6 separate regions of the Homo sapiens genome follow, and regions 1, 3, 4, 5 and 6 are each linked to region 2. Evidence: promoter capture Hi-C in human tissues and cell types (Jung and others, 2019). All regions are on one chromosome and are shown on one strand. Each heading gives the region's core, a stretch centred on a gene start or on the middle of the fragment in contact. The rest is flanking DNA. Distances are from core to core; before and after follow the strand shown.

Region 1 (4,284 bases), core at 1,073-3,572, 410 kb before region 2:
AAATATACTAGCGCATGCGCCTAAGGATGGGTCCCTACCCAAGCCCAGTAGCAGACCCAATATTGAAAGCAGAAGGTGACAGAAGAGGCTAAACCTGGATAAGGCAAGCAGAAATCCAGGAAAAAATGAAAAACTGTATGGCTCAAAAAATCAATTTCTCTACACCCCAATCCTCATTTTCATCTTCTAGTACCAATCCTCCTCACGGTTTAAAACTAGGTCCTTCTTCGCCTCTCCCCTACCCCACTTAATTTCTGCTTCCCCTGCAGCATGTTTTTGACCTGCACTTAATTCTTCAGCTTAACCATTCACCCACACTTCCATACCACCTCACACAAAAATCCCCCCACTCCTTAAGAAAGGAAAACCAGGCCGGGTACGGTGGCTCACGCCTGTAACACCTGCACTTTGGGAGGCCGAGGTGGGCGGATCACCAGATCAGGAGATTGACACCAGCCTGGCCAACACGGTGAAACTCCATCTCTACCAAAAATACAAAAATTAGCTGGGCGGCGGCGATTGCCTGTAATCTCAGCAACTCCAGAGGCTGAAGCAGGAGAATCGCTTGAACCCGGGAGGCGGAAGGTTGCAGTGAGCCGAGATCGCGCCACTGCACTCCGGCCTGCCAACAGAGCTAGACTCCGTCTCGGAAAAAAAAAAAAAAGAAAAACCAGTAGGTGCTAAGCAAAGGATATTAGGTCACAATGTTTCGGAGAACTTTTAGGGAATGAGCCACCTAGTCCACCCCACAAAAAAAGACGACGACCCCACGGCATCTAAGGGGTGTGTTAAGACACAGAAAGTAGGAAGATCAACACCACACACAAATCACCAAACCAAACGATATTACAAAACTCTTAAAGTGGGGGCCATAGACAGTGGATATGCAAAAGTTACCCAAGTTAAAAGCAGAAAGTAAAAAGTACAAAGGAAGACAAAAACACCCTTTTCTGTTGGGAAATTATCCGAGTGGTAAGCTAACAATGAAGTAGAAAGATATATTTGAATTCAACAGTAAAATATGCAAAAAAGAAAACGGTACCAAAAGGGGAGAAAAAGGGGAGACAAGGGTTGTCGAAAAAAATGGACATCAGCAAGCACAGCCAGCTCAGCACCGGGGCGCTCCAGAGCGGCTGAGTGGACACAAAGAACCCAGAAAGCTAAAATAGTAGCTTTAGAAGAGCCCTAAGCCCACGCACTTAGGATGAAAGACAACACAACACTCTGAAATTCTGATCCAGATTCGTCCTAACTGAAGCCGAGTGGAAACCAAGCTTCAGAAGAGCTGTGTGCCAAAGAACGCCTGAAACCAACCAGAAAACTTATATATGAGTCTGGCGTTTTCTTCCCAACGAAGGTCTCCAAAAGCCTCCTTAGTTTGAACACGAATTCTCGGGAGACGTTGAAAAAGTGTAAAAAGGGAACGCACGGTCTACCTTACAAATGTAAACTGAACACGTTCACTTTCTTCACAGTTTTTAAGATTTGGGGTTTCTCCCCGCCACTAACAACTCAAAGGCTGATAGCCGGGAATCCTAAACCATTTAAATCCGGCCCACGAAGTTCAAGGCCCTCCCCGCAGCGCCGGGGGCCTATTTTCGGCCTTGCGGAATGGGGGAGGGGGCTGCGCGGCGTCCCGCAGTCTGGGAGGCCCCCGACACGGGCAGCCCAACGCCGAAGAGAAGCCCGAGGAAAGGAGATCTGGAACCGGGGGCAAGGGTCCAGGAGCAAGCCCCCCGCCGCCGCCCCTTCCCCGCCACTTAAGGGCCGAAAACGGCAGCTGCAGGAAGGCCACCTCGGCGGCACATGTTGGGGGGAGGAGTGAAGCCGAGGCGCGCGCCCTCCCCCCTCACCAAGGGCGCTCGCGAACCCGAGTACAGGCGGCTGCGAACGCCGTTGTCATGGGGGAGGGGCGGGGGGGGGTGAAGCCCGCGCGCGACAGGAACGGCGGGAAGGGGGAAGGGAGGCGAGGGCGTCCGCGCCAGCGAAGGGCGTCGAGCGCGCGTGCGCGCGGAGGAGCTCGGCGGCCTGGGCAGTTCTCCGCGCGCTTTGGCCTCGCGCCGGGGCCGCCGCCCCTCCCCCACCCGGCTCGCTGGCTCCCTCACCCTCTCACCCGCCGCCTCCGCCCGCCGCCTCCGAGGGGGAGAGGTCTTGCCGCCGCCGCTGCTCGAGCTCCCGAGTCCCTCGGGCCTGGGGCCGCCGCCTCGCCTCGCCGGTCCGCCCGCCTCAGCCGACGCCGACGCCTCCTCGCTTCCTCAGGGGCCGCAACGGGCTCCAACTGCGCCACTCGCACCCCGCCTGGGCCGCGCTGCACGTCAGCACGACTAACTGCGTGCGTCAGCACGCAAACGCGCGTCGCGGGGCCTGCCGGGAACTGGAGTGCGCCCCGCGGCCTTTTGCGCAGGCGCCGAAGCCACACCGCGAAGTACCGTTTTTTCAGGCACAAGGAAGGTTTCACCCCGTTGCCGAAAGACTAAGCGTCCCGTTGGCCAGTGCAACGAAGAACGGAGGAAGCGACGTAAGACACCGCGTATTCGTAGGCCTTCCGCTGCGGGGAGGAGCACAGGGCCTAGCGGCAGCAAAGCGACGCCCGAGCGCGTCTCGTCTCCCGCTGTCGATGCAGAGCATTCTGGGAGTTGTGGTTCGGGCGTGTCGCGGAGCCCGGATGTAATTTCGGCTCGGGGCGTGGCGGCCATTTTGTCTCCCCATGTTGGGAGACGATATCCCAGCCGCGGTGGTGCTGCCGCTTTCGTGTGACTTTGGGTTTCCCGAGCGAGCCCGCAGCTGCACAGCAGTCCGCCTTCCCGTACCCGAGAGAAGCCGCCTCAGACCCCAGCCAGCGGGCACCCCCGGAGGCCCCGAGCCTGGCTGCAGGCCCTAGACCTGCACCAGGGGCCCAACCAGTTACCCGTAGCATGGGCCACGTTCTCCCGCTGTAGACCGGGCTGAGGCCCGACGGCCACCCCTGGGGGAGGAGTTTTCTTAGCTTCCGGTAGGGCAGCCAGGCCGGGGTCCCACCAGACCCAGGACGTGATACCGGTGAAGCGGCACATACAGGAACAAGGCAGGAGGAAAATAATAAGCACCTTAAAGTTTCCACTTTTCGGTACCGTACTTCCTGTTAATGTTTCTAAGCCCGTGATTCTGGGCCTGATAATCAGCCAGCCGTCCTCACAGCAGAGTTGTAAGACGCTGGGCTGCTCAAGCACAAGTTCATATCTAGACCCACCGCTGGCGAGCAGCCCTGGACGTCCCGCTTAGCTGTCCTAACCAACTCAGGTGGCCTTGATCCGCAACAGGACGCGGTACCACGTAATGAACTGTCCATTTGAGTGCAAGGATTTATATTTGTTATTACGATTTGGGGGTGTTTTTAAGAGGCAGGGTTTTGCCCAGGCTGTTCTCGAATTTGGGGCTCAAGCGATCCTCCGACCTCAGCCTCCCAAGTAGCTGGGACTACCCGTGCATGACACCCTATCTGGCCCTTGTTTTTTGTTGTTGTTGTTGTTCTTTCTTTTTTCACGTGGTTTCGCACTTGTCACCCAGGCTGGAGTGCAATGGTGTGTTGTCGGCTCACTGCAACCTGTCTCTCAGGTTGAAGTGATTCTCGTGTCTCAGTCTTCCGAGTAGCTGGGATTACAGGCGTGTGCCACCACGCCTGGCTAATTTTTGTATTTTTAGTAAAGACGGGGCTTCACTATATTGGTCAGGCTGGTCTCGATTTCCTGACCTCAGGTGATCTGCCCACCTCAGCCTCCCAAAGTGCTGATATTACAGGCGTGAGCCACCACGCCCGGCCCGTATCCGGCTTTAAGATTTGTTTTTCACTTGCCCGTGGGAGGATGTACTTATCTCAGATGCTAGAGCCGGGAGACCCTCCCCCCCACCACCCCCATCTCCTGCAGGAGCTCTGATCGCAGATTGGAGTGTCTGAACTCTGCATCTATGGACGGTGCTTCTGTAAGCCGGCCGCAACTCTGGAGTGGCATAGTAAAGTGGCAAAGGCTTTGCCTTTCTGGTTAAAGACCCCAGCACCTCCAGTGAGACCCTTTCCTGTACCCCCACTGATATTCTTTATGGAATGTTTTGTGCGTGAGTCAGCACATTTAATGCCCGTGAATAGTGACAAAACATGGTTTGCAGTACCCTAATGACTGATGATGCTGAGAATCTTTTGATGTGCTTGTTGGCCGTTTGTACATCTTTGGAGAAATTTCTCTTCGTGTCTTTTGTCTATTTTATTTTTTTGGGACAGAGTCTCACTCCTAACCCCGGGCTGGAGTG
Region 2 (4,106 bases), core at 1,498-3,997:
TGTGAGTGTTTCCATATAAGAGAGGGGTAGAGTCCAGGAGCCTGAACACGGAGGTTGTCATCTCAGCTCTACTGGGTGACTCTGAAGAAATTATGACCTTATCTGGGCCTCCATCTGGAAAGAAATGACTAGGTGGAGCATCTAGGTTTGCTTTATTTTTTCAGTAGTGGGCCTTGAGCACAATGTGATGAATTATCCAGGGATTGTTGAAGGGCATCAAAAGGGTCCAGCTCACTGTGGGCAACTGTTTTTTAACAGTTCAGAGCCTGAAATTTTTGGGCATAAGATACTTTTCCCAGTGGCCTTCACACCCTCCCACCTCATGATTGTGATTATAATAATTAACAATTAACCTGGCAGAGTTAAGAAAAAAGATATAAAATTAGTACCCTGCAATTGTCTGTCTTGATCTGTAAGGTCATCCTTCTTCCAAAATTCCTACCCTATCTTCCATCTAAGGTAAATTCTGAGTCAGCCAGTTCTGGTACTGGATTTGGTTACAGAGAATTGGGATCCAGTTTTGAAAAGGCCGGAAAAACGTGCAAGGTCTAACAAATTCAATTTGGAAATGGCAAGGATTGGTTTTGGAAAGAAAAATGACTGAGGATATGACCGGGTGAAGACAGGGCCAAGCAGCCAAGTTCACATCATTTTCTGGGACGAAGCAGAGAATGGGGAAGACATTTTGGATGGGGTGTTGCAGTCTGTGAAGACTGATGGGGAAAGGGGGTTTTTAGGATGTTTGCAGCGCATTAATAATCCACTCCCCCACCCATCCTGTAACTGCATTCAATTGTTTGGGGTTTTTTTTCCCCCTGTATGCTCATTACGGAGACTAGGCTATGTAAATCCCTAGCTATACTCACATTATATACTACCATTTATTTGGCATTTATGTGTCAGGTATTGTAGTAAGCACTTAAACATGCATTTTCTCATTTGACCCAAAAAAGAAAAGAATACACCAACAAAAAACCTTTGAGTTTGCTATTATTATTAATTACTATTATTATAATTTCAATTTTAGGGATAGGAAATTGAGACTCAGAAAGATAAAATGACATGTCTACATTAATTGGTGGGTCAAGATCTGAAGCCAGGTCTCTGTGATTCCACTGAACAAATTATTTAGCATGAGCCTCCTCCGCCCCAGGCACTCTAGGACCCTGGATCTAGGCATGAACCTGACGAAGTCCCTTTGCTCGCGGAATGGGCTATCCAGAACATCATCAGAGTGAAAGGTGCTATGTACACAGTAAAATGGGGAACGAGCCGCTCAAACCCTACTCCATCAGGACTCTTGGGGGTGGGCGATTTCCGCCCCCGGCCCGGGGCGTTGCATTAGGTCGGGGCCGTCGGGTCGTGGTGCCGGCGGCTGGCTGGGCGCGGGGCTGGCGGTGCGGGTCGCAGGCGGCTCCCAGCGGCAGGACCGGCAGCAGCCCTCCCTCACCCGGGGCGCCGGGACCACGGACGCACCTCACTGTGGTCCGGCCGCTGGCGGCGCTCGGGGACCCATTGGCCCCGGCCCGCGGCAACTGTCGGCCCCGCGCGGCGCCCGCCCTCATGCTGGAGCCCGGGAGTCCCTCACTCCACCTCTCCCTGCCACGCCAAGGGGGCCCGCCCCTCCCAGGCTCTCCTGCCTGGGGCGACCCAGTCCCACGACCCGGTCCGGCCCAGGGACACCCCGACCCACCTCCCCACTCCCGTCCCGTTAGACCGCGACCCGTCCCTGGGACCGCCTAATGTGACACGCCCGGGACCCTCCCTGCAGGCGACTCCCTGCAGGGCCCCCGCCCTGGACACTCCCTCCAGGTGACCCCGTTCCGCTCGCTCCGTGAGGTGACCCCGACCCTCTCCGGACCACCTCCTCAGGTGACCCCGACCCTCTCCGGACCCTCCCCGACCCTCCCCTCAGGTGAACCCGACCCTCCCCGGACCATCCCGTCGGGTGACCCCAACCATCCCCGAACCCCCCCACCCTCCCCTCAGGTGACCCCGACCCTCTCTGGACCCTCCTCACAGGCGGCCCCGCCCCACCCCGGGACCCTCCCGCCAGGTGACCCCGACAAGGCCGGGCCCTCCTGCCTGAGGTGACTCCTACCCGGCTGGGGACCCCCGAGGCCTCCCTCGCTCCTTAAGTGAGGGCGACTCCGCTCATCCCGGGACACCGCGCCTTCTCCTGTAAACTCGACGCCTGCCCCGACGGCCGAATTCCAGAAGGTTCCTCGCCGCCGCCTCGCCTTCGGTCGCGCCCCAGCGCCCGGCCAGAGGCGGGGAAGCCCTTCCCCCGGTGCCAGGAGTGACGAGGGCCCAAGGAAAGACAGTGCGTGAGGAGAAATGGAGAAACGGCCAAAGTCGAGTTTCCGGGTGTGAAGACTTCCACTGCTGCGAAACGCACGTGCGCAGAGTCATTCCTGTCAGAGGCCACCGCGCCCTCGCTCGGCTACCGCCGCTGCGCGCCCCCTGCTGGACATAGGCGCGGGCACAGAGCAGTGCGCAAGCACGGGCTGCCGCGCGGCCGGGTGCGAACCGCGTACTCGCAGGGTGGCTGACTGCGCACGCGCAAGTCAGAGCGCCCTCTGCCGGGCATGGGCGACATGCAGGGGGCACCGCGCAGGCGCGGGGTTGGGCTGGCCGGAGCGGCCGAGGCGGCCGGGGGTGGACCGGGCACCTGCAGGGGCGGCCGACTGCGCACGCGCCATCCGCGGCGCCCCCTGCAGGAGCCGGAGCGGCCGCTGCGTCCGCCAGTAGCGGGTTGCAGGCGCACCCTCCCCTCCAGGGCGGCCACGCAGCTGTCAGTGCCGCCGCCACTGCGAGGCTGGAGCGGAGCCCGGGTGGCCGAGGGAGGGGACCCCGCGAGAGGGCCGCGCGCCGGCCGCCGCCGCCCCGGCGCCCAGGCTCGGTGAGTGCCGCCGGGACCCGCCGCTCGCGCGCTCGTTCCCGGGGCTTGCGGTCCCCACCCGGGTCCGCCCTTCCCACCCTCGCCGGCCAGCTCGGGCCTCGGGCCCCCCCCAGCTCCGGCCTGGCCTGCGGGCCCCTCCCGCGACCCCGCATCCCCTCCGGCCGCGCCCGCGCCCGCCCCTCCTGCCGCGGCCTCGGCTCCGGGCGCTCCCTGCAGGTGCCGCTCCCTCAGCGTCGGCTCCCATCCGAGCCTTGGGCGTGTCCCGCACTGCGGGCAGTGCCTGAGCCCGCGCCGCGCGGGGAAGCTCGACCCTGCGGAGACTCGGCACGGCCCGGGCCCTCTGTGTGCGCCCAGAAGGTGGATATGTAGCGACCGACAGCCCCGGCCCCGAGGGATGCAGGCGTCCGCCGCGCACTTGCGGAGATGGCGCCGCTTTCCGGCCGCAGGGATGCCGGGCGCGCGGTGGCAAAGCCGCCCGGGTTGGATTCCGCCTGCTCCCACCCTCTGGTTCCGAGGAGCCTCCAAATCCGAATCCAAGGCCCACGGTCCGCGGCGGGCGTTTGCTGCGCCCTCCACTGTGTGGGAACGGGAAAGGGGAGCCGCTAGTCCAGGCGGAGGGGCTTGTGGCAGTCGCCGGAGGCCGCGTTCTCGGCGCCCTCGGTCAGGACGCCTGTGTGCATCGCGTCCGTGTGTCTTGGCTCTGTTCCAAGCCGGCTCCACGCTTCAGAAGGGCCGGGACGGCCTTATGGTCAGGGGCGTGGGGAAGGCGCTTGGTGTCTGTCGCACAGATGAAGCCATGTCCTCAGGGGGTAATTGCCGCTTGTTCTCCGGGTTACGTCCTGGACTGTGCACTCCGGGAAGGCGTCGATTGGATCTTGTTGGGGTTTGTGTTCCTGGAACTCCAGAAATGCCCGCTGAGTGAGTAGCCGAGACCCCGCGACAGCATGGAGCCCAGGCAGGGAGCACGTGGGAGAGGTTCACTCTTCTCCTGGGCATCCCGTCATTTTATTCAGATAGTCTGGGCGCTGCCTTTTGTAAACTTGAAAAGACTAAGACTGTTTTAGAAAGTTTGCCTCATGAGAAATGTAAGAGAAAGGGAAAAATAGATAAAAATGGATGTCATGGGAATCTCCCCCACACTTTCATTTTTAACTTCTTAGATAATTTTTCTTTTAAATTGAACCTTTGCTAACTCTACCTGAAA
Region 3 (4,262 bases), core at 1,763-4,262, 310 kb before region 2:
AGCCAGCTTCCCCTAATGCCATGACATGACCGTGATACCTCTGTCACTCTGTCGAAACTGAGGTGTTCGCGCTGGCACCACACTACTCACCGAGCGACAGGCCTGTTTTGGATTTTATCAGTTTTCCTCCTGATGTCCTTGCTGTCCCAGGACCCCGCCCCGGTGCCACATCGCATCGCGTTGTCCTGTCTCATTCGCCCCCTCTGGTGTAGGATAGCTGCCGTCCTTCCTTGTTTGTCATCAGCTTGGTACTTTTGAGGAGTCCTGGTCAGGTATTTTGCAGAATGTGCCTTCATTTGGGTTTGTTTGATGTCTTGTGGTTGGACAGGTTGTGGGGTTAGGAAGAATCCCACAGAGATGAGGTGCCCTTAGTGCGTCGTATTGGGGTACAGGACATCCACGTGACTCATCGCTGGTGACGTTCAACAAAATTACTTACAAAACTTTTAAAAAATTATTATTGTTTGCTTTAGAGATGAGCTCTCGCTCTGTCATCCAGGCTGGAGTGCAGTGGTGGGATCATAGCTCACTGCAGTCTCCAACTCCTGGGCTCAAGCGACCCCCCCACCTCAGCCTCCTGAGTAGCTGGGGCTACAGGTACGTGCCACTGTGTCTGGCAAAATTAGTTTTACTTTACCAAAAGGAAGCACATAGGCCTGCTCTGCTCTCTGCTACTTGGGGGTTTTGTGTCATAGATTGTAGGACACTGGTGGTAATTTAATTTCAGAAGGGACCTTCTTGCTCACCCAGTTGGATCCTTCCAGTTTCTAGATGAAGACACTTGGGACCTGGAGGCCTTCTGACTTTTGGGTCAGAGCTGGCATGGAGTCCAGGCACCTGCTTTCTGCAGGCATGCATGCTCCTGGGACACTCTGCAGGGACAGAGCCATCCCCAGCAAGGCAGACTGACAGGGCTGGTTTCCAGTCGGGTGGGGCCGCATCCCTCCAGGGGATGTGAGGCAGGTTTGAGATGAGTCTGCTCCCCTTCTGCCTGCTGCTCCTGTCTTTTTTTTTCTTTTTCTTTTTCTTTTCTTTTTTTTTTTTTGAGACGGAGTCTCGCTCTGTTTCCAAGGCTGGAGTGCAGTGGCGCGATCTCAGCTCACTGCAACCTCTGCCTCCCAGGTTCAAGTGGTACTCCTGCCTCAGCCTCCCAAGTAGCTGAGACTACAGGCATGCGCCCCCACACCTGGCTTATTTTGCGTTTTTAGTAGAGACAGGGTTTCTCCATGTTGGTCAGGCTGGTCTCCAATTCCTGACCTCAGGTGATCCTCCCAAAGTGCTGGGATCACAGGCGTGAGCCACCGCAACTGGCCTAGGAGTAACTTCTTAATGAATATTTTAATAATATAAATCTTAGTCTGAATTTCTGACTGTGTCGCCTAGATGCCATGTAGGGGAATGGGCAGGTCAGAGGGTGTGGCCTGCGCTGTGGCGAGGCACTGAGGATTAGGTGCTGCAGTTTTCCTCCGGCCCCTCCTGGTTCCCTGGTGAACACACATCAGCCTCAGATGGGCGACCCCCTACTCATGGGAGGGCTGGGAGTGTGGGCCTTGTAGTTGGATTCTGCTTCAGAATTGCGTGTGACCTCACTGTGGAGTGTTTGACTGGACAAAAGCCTGCTGTATACTCAGTGTCCCCATCTGTAGAAAGGATGCCGATGGTACCCACCCCCAGAGTTGTTTTGAGGACTAACCACGATAATACATGTAAAATGCTCAGAAGAATGTGTGGCAAACAGCAAGCACTTAATAAATTTTTTTTTTAGTAGAGAAAAATGGCATTTTATTTATTTTAAACAACAGCATTTAAAGTTATACCTATAAGGGGCACACAGAAGATATATGGAGAGTTTAAAGAATGAAAATAAACTCACACGTGCCCACCACCCTACTTGAAAAACAGGATTTTACCAGAAGGCTCGAGTGGCCCTCCAGATTGTAGTTTCTGGCCCCTCCCGTTCAGAGGTAACTGGCATCCTGGTTTTCATGTTGATCAGTGGTGTTTAAAGTACACCTGTAGGAAGTTCCAAAGTGCAGGAAGGGAACAAAGCCTCCTTGCAGAGAAATCTTGTACTTTGGTGTTTCATCATCTGTTTGTGTGACAAATATACAACGTTAATGTTGAAGATGTGGGTTAGTGAAATTGAGACCTGGCGCTTCCTGAGGCTGGCAGCCCGGTTGAGCCTGAGGACCAGACTTGAGGCAGTTGGCAGTCCGCGCCTCGTTGCCCTCTGTCTGCCCTGGGTAAGTGAGAGGCTCCTTGGGAGGCCAGTGGAGATGGCTGTGGGAGGACAGATTGAGTAGCTGTCCTTGGAGCTGCTCCTCCCTCCCTTCGTGGAGAAATAGAAACAGCTTTCCTCCGGCCCTCACCTGTTGCCAGGGCTCCACGCTGGTGGGGGCGAGCTGCGTTTTGCTGAGTTGCACCGTGGGAGAGCGTTGGTGACCACTTGCCTGCTGTGGGCCAGCTCCCCGTGGCCAAGGACCAGCGTGGGCAGGGCCTTCGGGCACGGGTTGCTGGTACGAGCACACCGAGAATCCCCTCCGCCATAGGGCCTGCCCTGTGAGCTGCCCACCAGATTCCACGGAGTGCTTCACACTCCTGTCTGGTGTGGGTCCCGCAGCCCTTGTGGGTGGGCCCATGTCATTAGCCTCATTTTAGAGAAGAGTCTTGATGGGTCGGAGAGCGGTGGCTTACCCACAGGTAAGCTGTAAATCTGGAACTCAACTGGGGCATTGGTTTTGCTAGTCCACCACAGTTGTCCTTGGTGGTGGCAGCCTGAGGGGTAGGGGAAGGTGGCGGCTGTCCCTCCCTAACACCCCCTTCCTCCACCTGGTTTTCTGTGCTGGGCCTAGCTTTGTGGAGTTTTCTGAGGTGAGAGGAGGTTTTTACCAGAATGCTCTTTGCCAGTGAGCACAGCTGACCTGAGGGCAGGATCCCTTTGGAGATGAGCTAGGTGGATTGTGGCAGCCTCCCACAACTTTGGTCCGGGGGCCTGGAGAGAGCAGTTCCTGCTTGCCGCGTGTGAGAGTGTGCGGGCGCTGGCTCTACCTGTCGCACTGCATTCCCAGGCTCCAGAGCACACACTGCCATTTAAAGGTAGCTTAGCTTTCTGTTCGGGATCCTTTCTCTTGCTGGTTGAAGTGTTCATCTGCGTGACAGCATCTTGACCATAGGAGGCGCCCTGATTTCCATCTTTTTTTTTTTTTTGAGACGGAGTCTTGCTGTGTCGCCCAGGCTGGAGTGCAGTGGCGCAATCTCGACTCACTGCAAGCTCCACCTCCCAGGTTCACACCATTCTCCTACCTCAGCCTCCCGAGTAGCTGGGACTACAGGCACCCGCCACCACGTCCAGCTAATTTTTTGTATTTTTAGTAGAGACGGGGTTTCACCGTGTTAGCCAGGATGGTCTTGATCTCCTGACCTTGTGATCCACCTGCCTCAGCCTCCCAAAGTCCTGGGATTTCAGGCATGAGCCACAGCACCCGGCCTTTTTTTTTTTTTTTTGAGACAGAGTTTCACTTTTGTCGCCCAGGCTGGAGTGCAGTGGCCCAATCTCTGCCCACTACAACCTCCGCCTCCTGAGTTCAGGCGATTCTCCTGCCTCAGCCTCCCGAGTAGCTGAGATTACAAGTGGCCACCACGACACCCAGCTAACTTTTTTGTATTTTTATTGGAGACGAGGTTGCACCATGTTGGCCAGGCTGGCCTCAAGCAATCCTCCCACCTTGTCTTGCTAAAGTGCTGGGATTACAGGTGTTAGCCATTGTGCCCTGCCTGATTTCTTTCTTGATTTATCTCCCGTGTGTGAGGGAGCTCAGCCTTTCTATATAGTTTTGTCCTCAAAGTTAGAGTTGGGCCTTCTAATCCAGTAGATATTTAAGGCATTTGGAAAAGGGGACACGGTTCATTTAGCTTTGAAAGGCTTATTCTATGATCCAGTGACCGTTGGTTGAGAAAACTTTGTGTCTTCTGTGTTACTTCATTGTGAAAGTGCTTCCAGCTGGCTTCAAGGCCTGCTCAGGTGAATCTTGTAGGTGAACTCAATAAATCCTCATGGCAAATCTGGGAGGTCGGCCCTGTGGCTCCCTGACTTTCAGATGAGGAATCTGAGCCACAGAAAGCTGAGGTAATGTGCCAAGGGATTGACTGCGAGTGAGTGGCAGAGCGGGCGTTCTGACGTGGCACTTGGAACAGCTATGTCTATTTGAGGCCCAGGACTAGTTCAAGTGCAAAAGGCTGAGACAGGTTAGTAGCTAATGACT
Region 4 (2,548 bases), core at 1-2,500, 380 kb after region 2:
GGCTCCAACAGGGAGCCTCCAGCAAGCAGAACTTACCACCTTACGGCCTCAGCTTCCTCACTGGGAAATGAACGAGCTAAAAGGAGAGCTCGAACATCCAGACACATAGGACAGACATGCTCTACAACTGCTACAAAAGAGAGGGAGCTGGGTCCGCTGTTGCACGGTTTCCAGATCTTTGGGGGTTTGATTTGGAGACTTCACCCTCTTACGGAAGAACCACCAGAGCATGCTATGCACCCCAAGTGTTCAAAAAGAACTGAACCAGGCTGGACACGGTGGCTCAGGCCTGTAATCCCAGCACCTGGGGGCCAAGGTGGGAGGATCACCTGAGGTCAGGAGTTCGAGACCAGCCTGGCCAACATGGTGAAACCCCGTGTCTACTAAAAATATAAAAATTAGCTGGGCGTGGTGGTGGTGCGCCTGTAATCCTAGTACTGGGGAGGCTGAGGCAGGAGAATCGCTTGAACCCGGGGTGGGGCAGAGGTTGCAGTGAGCCGAGATCGCGCCACTGCACTCCAGCCTGGGCAACAGAGTGAGACTGTCTCAGGAAAAAAAAAAACAACAAAAACTGAACTGGGCATTTTCCCGGTTCGTTCCAGAGATGCTGAATTTGGGCATCTCGGCCATCACCCCGACACTTGGTCATCCGGCAGAGAGACATTTGAGAGAGGCCTGAGGCCAGCGGTGCAGTGGAGGGGTGCCCGGGGCGGCGGGGGGCGGAGAGCAGTGCGGGGTCCTGGGGCAGTGGGCGCTGGGTGCGGCAGGGAGGGAAGAGTCCTGGGAAGAAGCGGGGCATCCCGGGGTGCAGGGGAGAGTAAGGGATCCTGGGAGGTGAGGTCCGGGGTGCAGTGGGAGGCCAAAGGAGGCGACGGAGCTCGGAGGTCTCCGGGGGTGGGGAGTTGTCCCCGGGGTGCAGCGGGGGGCGGTCTCAGGCAGACGGGACCCCGGAGGCATTGGAGGATCCAGGCAGGGTGTGGGATCCAGGGGTCCCCAGAGGCCGGCGAGGGAGCCCCGGGCTGGGGCTTCGTACCTCTCACGAGGGTCACGGGTCGGTCCACGATGAGGTCGAACGCTTTCATCATGTAGACGATGGGATTGGGCTGCACCGGCGTGCGGCGCGGGGGCTCAGGGTACACATCCTTGTCCCAGCTGTCCGGCATGGCGGCGGCGGGCGCGGACTCCGCTCCCGGACGCGCTGCCCTGGCCTCTACCTCCGTCCGGGTCCCGCGGCCTAGGTCGCCCGCTACAGAGGACGCCGAGGGCGGCTGCGTCTGCGCGCTGGCGCCGCGATGCACCATGGGACTTGTAGTTCCCCGGCTCCGCCGGGCGCGGCCGGGACCCGCCTCGCCGCAGGGCGCCCCCGCGTGGGGCCTCCGTTCTCGGTCTGTGCCGAGCGCCTACGCGGTGCTGGTCGCTGGTCTGGGCGCCTGGGAAGCAGCCGCGAACCGGACAGATTCCTGCTTACGATGAAAGAAACAGACAAAAGGCAACTGACATAAGGAATAGGAGGGGGTCATTCGGTTCCCACTGCGCGCCAGGCACTGTGCTGAGTGCAGCAGGGAATAAGATAAACTGTGATGGAGAACACAGGCCGTTAGAGCGCACACGACAAAGTGAACAAATAGCACGCGATTCCAAACACCCTACTCCTCCAGGAAGCTTTCCTGGATTGCCTAGTCCCTACAGACTTCTCTGGGCCCCGCTCTCTACAAGGGCCCCTCATGGACTGGCTGGTGCCAGTTAACTTGGGAGCCTGTCTGGGGGAGGGCAGGGAGCAGACCAGGAGGCAGGGCTTGCCCTTAGGCGGCTCATAGGGAGAAGGCACCTACCCTGGGCACAGGGCCCTCTGGCCGGCTTTGATGGTTCCATCCTGGCCCTGGGGCACTCTGGTGCTTCTAGGCAGCTCCACTGAGCAGGGTCCTGCTGGCCACATCTTCAGTCTCCACACCTGGCACGGCCCCTGGCTGCTATCCAGGGGGGACACTGGTCATGTCCTGTCCTGAGGTTGAGGCCAGCGACACAGAACCATCAACCCTACAGACAAACAGTGAGAGGTGACAGCGTGCTGGCAGTCCTCAGAGCCCTCGCTCGCTCTCGGCGCCTCCTCTGCCTGGGCTCCCACTTTGGCGGCACTTGAGGAGCCCCTTTCTGGGCTGGCCAAGGCCAGAGCGGGCTCCCTCAGCTTGCGGGGAGGTGTGGAGGGAGAGGCGCAGGCGGGAACCGGGGCTGCGCGCGGTGCTTTGCGGGCCAGCGCGAATTCCAGGTGGGTGTGGGCTCGGCGGGCCCCGCACTCGGAGAGCCTGGCCGGCCCTGCCGGCCCTGGGCAATGAGGGGCTTAGCACCCGGGCCAGCGGCTGCGGAGGGTGTGCTGGGTCCCCCAGCAGGCCGGCCCACCGGCGCTGCGCTCGATTTCTCTCGCCAGGCCTTAGCTGCCTCCCCGCGGGGCAGGGCTCGGGACCTACAGCCCGCCATGCCTGAGCCTCCCCCACTCCGTGGGCTCCTGTGCGGCCCGAACCTCCCCGACGAGCGCCGCCCCCTGCTCCAG
Region 5 (4,449 bases), core at 841-3,340, 340 kb before region 2:
TTTGTATTTTTAGTAGAGACAGAGTTTCATCATGTTAGCCAGGATGGTCTCGATCTCCTGACCTCGTGATCCGCCTGCCTCGGCCTCCCAAAGTGCTGGGATTACAGACGTGAGCCACCGCGCCCACCTTTTTGTATTTTTAGTAGAGACCGGGCATCACCATATTGGCCCGGTTGGTTTTGAACGAGATCCACCTGCCTGGGCCTCCCAAAGTGTTGGGATTACAGGCATGAGCCACCGCGCCTGGCCCATAATTTTTAACAAAGTCTTAAGGAACAGTAAAGCAAAGGGATCAACCACCTTAACTGTGCTAAAGTTCATCAACTGGGAATCAAGTGCTCCAGTGCTGAATAGACAACCATTGCCTCAAAGAACCCAATGGACAAGAGCAATTTAAACTCTAATTTCATATACAAAACAGGAATGCTTGAGTAGAAAGGCAAGGGAGTGACCACTAAGCCCTGTTATTTAAAAAGAAAAACCAAACAGTAAAACATACACCCACACTTATAAAAGGAAAATCACAGCTAACAAACGCCTATTTCTATCCTGGGGATGACTGTCATTTCCTGGGAGGTCAATTCTCTGAGTAGAGGGCTTGGTCAAATGAGCAATGGAAACAGTTGGAAGTTGTGGGGAGGCACAGGAGGGTTGGCATCTCAAACCCTCATTTCCACCCACAAGGCTGCCTTAGCAGTAACTCCAGATTCTCACTTCCTGATCACGGTCATGCCATGCTGAGAATGGTCTCAGTCAGGCTTCTCAAACTTGAAGAGGGATCCGAACCTTTCTGGGAAGCCTCCTGCATGGCAAATGTTGGCTGCCAAGGCACAAAGCCAAGCGCAGTCATGTAAGCTCAACTGAAAGACCCCGCAAAGTTAGTATAAGGCTTGTGAACTGCCTTGAATAAATATAGGTAACAACTTCTTCAAACAGGCTTTTTTGTGAGTTTCAATCCTGCACAACTCCCAAGACACGGTTCCTCGGCTCCACAACTCTTGATAAATAAAGGTAGCAAAAGGTTTCTATTACCATCTACCCAACAGCATGAGCATTTCGCTTGATGAAAGACAAGCTGCAAACTAACCTGGAAATTCCTGTCCTTTTGCGAAGACAGTGGGAAAACTAAGCCAATTAGAAAGCAGATTGAAAGATTCCTTACCTGACCCTTCCTGGACATCCCTAAAGCAACCCTTAATATGAGCAAAATCCCCTTCGAAAAATCATACTATATACTACGGACGCATCTTCTAAGAGGTGCTGAGTGGGTGCTGCGTGCTGTGGATGGAAAGGATGGAGCGCCAACTCTCTAAATGCAAGTCACCAGGGAAAAAAAGGGCCGCCCATATCAACCCCCACGTCAGCGTTAATTCAAACGTCCAGAATGTGAAACAACGCCAAGGGTTCTGTTTCCAGAGCCAGCAAGTACCCTGGGACAGAGAAGAGAAGGCGTTCACACACCCTGGGCAAAAGAACCTAGTGAGAAAAAGAAAGTAGAATCACAGCAAAGTCCGGGGTCTAGGAAGCCTCCTCCACCAAAGAGCAAAGAGGGCGAGGAAGAGACACCCCCAAGGTGAATCGACTCAGGATCCTCAAAGGCAGTGGACGCCAGGGCGCCATCCTCACCCTCCCCTCCCAGGGTAGGGGATCGGGGCAAGCTGGGGAGGAGCTGGCGACAAGGGAGCGCGGGGCTCGAAGCCCGAGGAGAGTCGCCCGCTCCCGCTGAAGTCTCCTCCGCACGAAGCAGGGCGTGTGCAGGAGCCGCAGGCCGGGAAGGCCAGGACCCTCCGGGCTGGCCCGTGAGGCCCTCACCTTGTCTGAGTCCAGGTCGGGATCGGCCTGGCATAAGCGGTACAGGAAGGATTTCGGGTCCCGGCACAGGGTCTGCCGAGTGGTGAGGAAGTAGGTGCCGCCGACGTTGAGTCGGACCCACTTGGACACGCTGCCAGGGCGCTGGGCCAGGGCGCCGAGCCCAGCGCTGCAGCGGCGGCACAGGCCGCCCCCCAGCCCCGCCCCGATGCCGCCCCGGGCCGGCGACAGGAGCTCGCAGTGATTCTCCGCCATGATCCCAGCAAGCCCCGCAACAGCTCCCTTCCACCGGAAGCGTCCGGCTTTTAATAGCGTCCTCTGAGTTCTGTCCCGCCCACAGGTCCGCCCTGGTAGAGCGCCCGCCCCGGCGTCACGCGGTAGGCGGAAGTTCCGGTCCCGAAAAGCAGGAGGCTGGGCCCGCTTCCGGCGGGAGCGGAGCACGGGGTGATCTGGGCACTAACGCTGATGGGGAGCAGCGGACATCAGCCTCGACCTCCCACGAGCGGTGCACGAGCGCCTGACCCAGACCTCGACCCTAGCCTTCACCCCCACCCTGACTCCAGTTCATGAACTGGTCAAAGGAAGAGCCATGCCAGCAAACGTCTACACTGTACATGCTTTTTATTACAAGACTACGGAGCATAGGAGGAAAATTCATCATCTGGTAACTACACCTAAAGCACAAATATTTGGGGGGAAAAAAAGAACAGATTCATTAAATTATATGATTAAATCATTGACCCAATAGAAAATTTATATAATAAGGGCGGGGCCTGGTGGCTCACGCCTGTAATCCCAGCACTTTGGGAGGCCGAGGCGGGAGGATCAGGCGGTCAGGAGATCGAGACCACGCTGGCCAACATGGTGAGGCCCGGTCTCCACTGAAAATACAAAAATTAGCCTGGCGCGGTGGTGGGCGCCGGTAATCCAAGCTACTCGGGAGGCTGCGGCAGGAGAATGGCGTGAACCCGGGAGGCAGAGGTTGCAGTGAGCTGAGATCTCGCCACTGCACTCCAGCCTGGTGATAGGGCGAGAGTCTGTCTCAAAAAAAAAAAAAGAAAGTTTTTGTAATAAAGCCAGAAAAAAGTTGTAAAATATATAGTAATTATTCACATTCAAGGCTGTATATCAATACATATAACAACGTGGCCCCGAACATGAATTCAATACAAATAATTCATATATTAGAATTTAGGCCGGGCGCGGTGGCTCATGTCTGTAATCCCAACACTTTGGGAGGCCAAGGTGGGTGGATCACGAGGTCAGGAGTTCAACATCAGCCTGGCCAAGATGGTGAATCTCCGTCTCTACCAAAAATACAAAAAATTAGCCAGATGTGGTTGTGGGCGCTCGTAATCCCAGCTACTCGGAGGCTGAGGCAGAGAATTGCTTAAACCCAGGAGGCGGAGGTTGCAGTTAGCCGAGATCAGGCCACTGCACTCTAGCCTGGGCGACAGAGTGAGACTCCGTCTCAAGAAAAAAAAAGAATTTAAATAACAGGCTGAACTAGAGGCCAACAATAGCCAGCAAATAACCTTCTATAAGATTAAAAACACAAAAGTGTATATCCTAATACCATTGTATTATTTGTTTTCATGAGTTCTTTTAATTTTTGCTTTGTCTGTACATCACAGTTACAGCTACAGACCAGGTAGAGAATATTACGCATGTTCTGACTGCCACCCACCTGAAAGACGTACTAGTCATTTATCCTATTTCATGTTGTGAAGGAACAGCTACAGCAGCTCTAAATACTGTAACAATTTAATTTTGCCAACATCCAACTTAACAGTCGTAATAGAGGCTTTTACCAGCACAATGACCCCTATTCGTAGTCATTCTGCCAGACGGTTAGGCTATGTGGGTTACACAGCTTAAAAAAGGTCTGCCTTTTGTAAAAAGTTCTCTGTACATAGTTTGGTGTTTCTTCATATGGAAGAAATGAGTTATGGGGAAAATTCAGGTACACACGTAGGCTCGTTCAGTTGCTCACCACAGCCATCTCAACAGATGAAAGTGCTCTTTGTTGGAAACAGCTTCCTCCTCACACCAGTTCTCCACAGGCAGCCTCATCTACAACCCTGCAATTTTGGGCCAGAAGTGGTGGCCCCTCAGAGGCTCTGAAGTGCCTCCAGCCCCGATTCAGGCACTTGCCACGTGTGCTGCGTAAGAAGGGACCCCACCCAGTGAGTCAACATAGGCTCATGTCAAGTTTGAAAATAACTGGGGAAAAGTGTATGACAACATCTTCCAGAACATAGTACCTTCACCGTATTCTCACAGCAGCTGCGATCTCTGAAGTCTCAGCAGTGAGCACCCCGGGTCTGTCAACCAGCCAGGCAAGGGGGGGCCCTCAGGCTTCAGAGGGCAAGAAACCAAATTCCGTGCAATTTGGCCATAATCTCTGGTAGAGTGAAGCAGCACTGAACGCAGTGCCTAGAAAAACCTCCTGCACGTTCCCCTGCACAATCAATGGACCCCAACTACAGTGGAGAAATGAAGAATCCAACCAAATTTGGGTGGTCTGGACTTGCTGCCAGCCAGGCAATCTGCAACACTGTGGGCAGGGAGATGGGGGGAGGCGGCCTGAAATCTACACCAGCTGGGACAACCACGCCCTACAATGAAAAAGCCAGCCTG
Region 6 (4,405 bases), core at 826-3,325, 380 kb before region 2:
GCTTAAAAGGAGGGTTGGGGAGCAGACACCAAGGAACACACAGAAAGGTGCCAAGAGGAAATAGTTACCTGCGAGGCTCTAAGACTGCCTCTGAGATCCCATCAGTGACCTGACCATAGGGTGCTGGAGAAATGTGGTCACCCAGACACTTTGAAACACTTTCCGTGGTTGATAATTATTATTCTCCTTTTTTTTTTTTTTTTTTTGAGACAGGGTCTCACTGTCTCCCAGGCTGGAGTGCAGTGTTGCAATCTCGTGTCATTGCCATCTCCGCCTCCCGAGTTCAAGTGATTCTCCTGCCTCAGCCTCCTGAGTAGCTAGGATCACAGGTGCCCGCCACCAAGCCCGGCTAATTTTGTATTTTAGTAGAGACGGGGTTTCACCATGTTGGCCATGCTGGTCTCGAACTCCTGACCTCAGGTGATCTGCCTGCCTTGGCCTCCCAAAGTGCTGGGATTCCCGGTGTGAGCCACTGCACCCAGCCCGTCGCGGTTTATAATTAGAGATTTCTCTGCTAAATGATGTTCTCTCTCTCACACTGAGGTGAGGTCTGTTTGGGTCACCTTTGTATTCCCCAAACCGGGGACAGTATTGGGCTCAAATCTGCTCAGAAATGACTGACTGACTGAATGAATAAATCAATACATGAATGAATACGTTTGGAGTCCCCTCTTCCCACTCCTCGCCCTCCCTCCTTCCCTCCAGACCCCCAGGGGCTGCCCAGCCCGCCTCCCACCCCCGACCCGGGAACTCCAGGGACTGGACGGGGAGGGAAGGGTGGGAGGAGGCGGTGGAGGCGGAGGCGGAGACGCGGGAGGGCGGGGCTAGGGAGGGCGATGCGGGGAGCCGGAGCCCGGACCATGAGGCTGGGAGCGCCCCTTCTGCACCCCTGGCCGCCCGCGCCGCGCCCCGCGCCCACCAGAGGGCAGCACCACGACGCGCGCGGACAAGGCTGAGGCGGGAACGGCCGCACCCCCAGCCCCGCCCGGAGCCGCCCGGCCCCGCCCCGCCCGCGAGTACCGACCCCCGGCGCCGGCGGGGAAACAGGTCCGGCGCCCCCGACCCCACGGCCCGGCCCCACTCTGTCTCTGACGTCAGCGCCGTGCCCCAAATAACTTCCTCCCCGAGCCTCTTCCGCCGCGGCGCCGCGCCCAGAGCCAGGCGGGGACACCGAAACGGTAACCCCGGCCCGGCCTTCCCGGAGCCGCTTCCGCCCCGCCTGGTGCCAGGAAGCCCCCGCCCCTTCCAAGGGATGGCAGCCGGGGCCCGGGTCGGCCGCCTGGGCCGCGCTGGCGCGCGCCTGAGGAACTTCTGGGGCCTGCTGTCCCGGGAGGAGGGTCGCTGCGGCCAACTCCGGACCCCGCCCCATGTCCCATCGCCTCCCCTGCCCTCGGCCCCGCAAACACCCCTGGCCTTGACTTTCCCACCAGCGCGGCCCAGCCCCACTGTGTTCCATCGGCGCTCAATAAAATACTGAATGAGGCCGGGCGCGGTGGCTCACCCCTGTAATCCCAGCGCTTTGGGAGGCCGAGGAGGGCGGATCACGAGGTCAGGAGATCGAGACTAGCCTGGCCAACACGGTTAAACCCCGTCTCTACTAAAAATACAAAAAATTAGCCGGGCGTGGTGGCACCTGCCTGTAATCCCAGCTACTCAGGAGGCTGAGGCAGGAGAATGGCTTGAACCTGGGAGACGGAGCTTGCAGTGAGCCGAGATTGCGCTCCAGCCTGGGCGACAGAGCGAGACTCTGTCTCAAAAAATTAAAAAAAATAATAATAATAATAATGAATGAAGCTGGACGGACTTCGCGTGCACCGCGGTCAGCTCGGGGTCTGCTGGGGGGTCTGGGTCAGCTCAGGGTCCAGGAACCGAGGCCAACGGCACCCCGTGCTGCGCTGGGGTGAGGGGTCTGCCCTGGGGTCTCGGGGTTCAGGGCTAGGTCACGGAGGAGTCGGCTCTGGGCGCTTCCTTCCTGAGGAGAGGAGCTGGGCAGGCCGGGCCGACGGGTTGGGCCGCATAGCCGGGCCTGTGCTCATCTCCAGCATAAAACTCCACTTCATGGAGCCTGCACCTCGCTCGTGCTCCAACGCTTCTGCCACCGCCGACCACGGCCCTGCGCCCCAGCCAGGCCTGAGGACATGAGGCGGCCGGCGGCGGTGCCGCTCCTGCTGCTGCTGTGTTTTGGTGAGTCGTGAAGGTGCAGGGTCCTGGTGGTGCAGTCCCCCACCAGGCTCCGCTGCACTGCCTGGGGCTCCGGCTCAGCCCCCTACTCCCTGGGACAGGCTGGGGCTGTGGGACAGGCCATCATCCCTCCTGCCCCTGAGCAGGTGGGAAGGCTCCAGATGTGCCAAGTGGGGAGTCCAAAGTGGGGAGGCAGGGTGGGAGGTGTGCGCACAGGCCCCAGAGGACCCCACCGGCATAACTGGGCAGCACCTCCTCCCATGCCTCTCCGCGGGCACTGGTGTGCCAGCTCTGGCCAGGCTCCCTGCTTCCTGCCACCTCGGCCTCTCCCCCCATTCTCTAGGTGAGGACAGGGGCCTCCTACGTGCAGGATGTGAACTCAGGCTCCAAGTGCCTGGACCATCATACTCGGGGTGGGAGGGTGGCCGAGCCGAGGGCTGCTGCCTGTGCCCGGAAGCCCCAGCAGGCTGGCTGCAGGCTCAGTAGAGAGCTGGGGGCAGGGGGTGTAGGTGGCAGAGGGCCCTGTCTCCTGCTGACAGAGGAACCGGTGATGCGCCACCGTGCCCTCTCCCAGTCCTGGGTCAGGGACAGCAGGTGCCAGCCAGGGGGCCCCACCTGCCAGGCCCCTCCCTGCGGGCCGGGACACTCTCTGTCAGGGAAAACCTCTCACATTCCTGGGCTAGCCTAGCCAGTCTGGCAGCCACCACACTTCCCTGTCCTCAAGTCACCTCCCAGGGCTGGGTCAGGTCATCCCAGGCTGCAGCTTAGCCAGTACTCCAGGCTTCCTTGTTCTCCTGGGTGGGAGGGCACCAGTGGCCCCTCAGTGGCCCGGCCTCCCCCACCCCATGCCCCCAGTCTCCCAGCACAAGGATGGTGCCCTCTGAGCAAGCCATGTGCACAGGAGGTGGAAGGCTGTGACTGCCCCTGAGCGGGGTGAGGAACCAAGGTCATTGCCAAAACTCTTTGGCAATGAGTTTTGCAGTCGGTTCACTAACAGCTGTGACCAGAGGCTGGACTCCTGGACACGTCCTCACTCCCAGCCCGAGGGTGGCACTCCCACCAGGTCTCTGGCTGGTGGTACCCACTAAGCTTCACCATCCCCACCAGCTACCAGCGAATCACAGGCCCAGGCCCCAAACAATGCTCCTGACACCCCCGGCACCCCTGGCTGTTGCTTCCAGCCCCCACAGGGCGCCCACCCTGAAGGGCTCAGCTGTCCACATCCCCCATTTCCCATCAGCCCCCACAGCCACACTTGTGTCCATCCACACATTCCCTGAGATCAGGCCCCCCAGATGCAGCCCTTGCCTTCTCGGAGCTCCTGGGCTAAGATAAGACTTGATTCTGGCTCCAGGGTGATGTAGACAGAGCTCCCATCAGGACAGAGAGCTCAAGAGAGAGTATAGGGCTTCCAAGGTAGACAATGCAAGCAAGCAAGGAAGGCTTCCTGGAGGAGGCAGCATTCAGTTGGGCCTTGATCTCTAGATCACGATTAGGACTTGGCTGGGAGCGGTGGCTCACGCCTGTAATGCCAGCACTTTGGGAGGCCGAGGTGGGCGGATCACGGGGCCAGGAGATCGAGACTATCCTGGCAAACATGGTGAAACCCCTCTCTACTAAAAATACAAAAAAATTAGCCGGGCTTGGTGGCGGGCCCCTGTAGTCCCAGCTACTCGGGAGGCTGAGGCAGGAGAATGGCGTGAACCCAGGAGGCGGAGCTTGCAGTGAGCTGAGATCGCGCCACTGCACTCCAGGCTGGGCAACAGAGTGAGACTCCATCTTAAAAAAAAAAAAAAAAAAAAGACTAGGACTTATGGAGACTGGGGGAAGGGCATCCAGATTGTGGGGTGAGGGGAGCAAGCACTCAGAGACCAGAAGACTCTGCCTAAATGAGAAGTACAGGGCTACTTTAGGAAGGAAGGATCTGCATGGGGAGGAGGCATCGCTGAAGGGGCAGTGCTCAGGCAGGGAGCATGGAGACACAGCTCCTGCAGACTCCCAGAGAGCGAGAAGGCCTGACAGTGCGCGCCCTTCTGCAAGCAGGATCCTCAGGCTTGGAAGGAGCAAGGGGTCGGGGGGCCAGGGAATAACCCTCCCGGTAGTGTTTGCATTTTAAAGGGCACTTAATTAGCACAAATTAATGAGCAGAGCATCCAGGGCAGACTCTCCATTTCCCGTTGCCCCTGACCCCGCTTCTGCAGGGCACCCCTTTGCCTGCCCTGCA

What was found. The method cuts DNA at HindIII sites, captures the fragments that hold promoters and counts their contacts. A contact is called where the count stands out against the background at its distance.
Region 1: a contact is called between the fragment with the promoter of SRRM2 here and the fragment with the promoter of ABCA3 in region 2, in 3 of the 25 tissues and cell types used here (adrenal gland, aorta and dorsolateral prefrontal cortex).
Region 3: a fragment that was not itself captured here is called in contact with the fragment with the promoter of ABCA3 in region 2 in 1 of the 25 tissues and cell types used here (IMR-90 fibroblasts).
Region 4: a contact is called between the fragment with the promoter of NDUFB10 here and the fragment with the promoter of ABCA3 in region 2, in 2 of the 25 tissues and cell types used here (lymphoblastoid cells and mesenchymal stem cells).
Region 5: a contact is called between the fragment with the promoter of KCTD5 here and the fragment with the promoter of ABCA3 in region 2, in 2 of the 25 tissues and cell types used here (dorsolateral prefrontal cortex and thymus).
Region 6: a contact is called between the fragment with the promoter of PRSS27 here and the fragment with the promoter of ABCA3 in region 2, in 3 of the 25 tissues and cell types used here (H1 embryonic stem cells, dorsolateral prefrontal cortex and lymphoblastoid cells).

The regions. Positions count from the first base shown.
Region 1 is chr16:2,750,676-2,754,959 of GRCh38, reverse strand. SRRM2 (serine/arginine repetitive matrix 2) reads right to left here and starts at 2,322. Exons shown (of 15, transcript NM_016333.4): 1 at 2,114-2,322. It overlaps SRRM2-AS1 (SRRM2 antisense RNA 1), which reads left to right and starts at 2,360. Exons shown (of 6, transcript NR_027275.1): 1 at 2,360-2,518. RefSeq lists enhancers at 914-1,756, 1,757-2,599, 2,481-2,770, 2,831-3,000, 2,600-3,442 and silencers at 1,911-1,970, 1,991-2,300. The HindIII fragment of the contact is 13,386 bases long and covers 1-4,284 here.
Region 2 is chr16:2,339,369-2,343,474 of GRCh38, reverse strand. ABCA3 (ATP binding cassette subfamily A member 3) reads left to right here and starts at 2,747. Exons shown (of 33, transcript NM_001089.3): 1 at 2,747-2,902. It also overlaps the pseudogene ABCA17P. RefSeq lists silencers at 2,437-2,896, 3,067-3,126. The HindIII fragment of the contact is 11,234 bases long and covers 1-4,106 here.
Region 3 is chr16:2,649,422-2,653,683 of GRCh38, reverse strand. No RefSeq gene overlaps it. Among named protein-coding and RNA genes, the nearest start is that of FLJ42627, 13 kb to the right of the region's middle. RefSeq lists an enhancer at 1-27. The HindIII fragment of the contact is 4,729 bases long and covers 648-4,262 here.
Region 4 is chr16:1,958,240-1,960,787 of GRCh38, reverse strand. It overlaps NDUFB10 (NADH:ubiquinone oxidoreductase subunit B10), which reads right to left and starts at 1,250. Exons shown (of 4, transcript NM_004548.3): 1 at 1,034-1,250. The coding sequence starts at 1,163. RefSeq lists silencers at 621-730, 1,161-1,470 and an enhancer at 2,193-2,548. The HindIII fragment of the contact is 2,906 bases long and covers 1-2,283 here.
Region 5 is chr16:2,680,164-2,684,612 of GRCh38, reverse strand. It overlaps KCTD5 (potassium channel tetramerization domain containing 5), which reads right to left and starts at 2,090. Exons shown (of 6, transcript NM_018992.4): 1 at 1,813-2,090. The coding sequence starts at 2,064. RefSeq lists enhancers at 1,408-1,457, 1,528-1,577, 1,122-1,732 and a silencer at 1,828-2,007. The HindIII fragment of the contact is 14,940 bases long and covers 1-4,449 here.
Region 6 is chr16:2,717,894-2,722,298 of GRCh38, reverse strand. PRSS27 (serine protease 27) reads left to right here and starts at 2,075. Exons shown (of 6, transcript NM_031948.5): 1 at 2,075-2,184. The coding sequence starts at 2,139. RefSeq lists silencers at 545-614, 745-1,504 and an enhancer at 1,238-1,805. The HindIII fragment of the contact is 19,281 bases long and covers 1-4,405 here.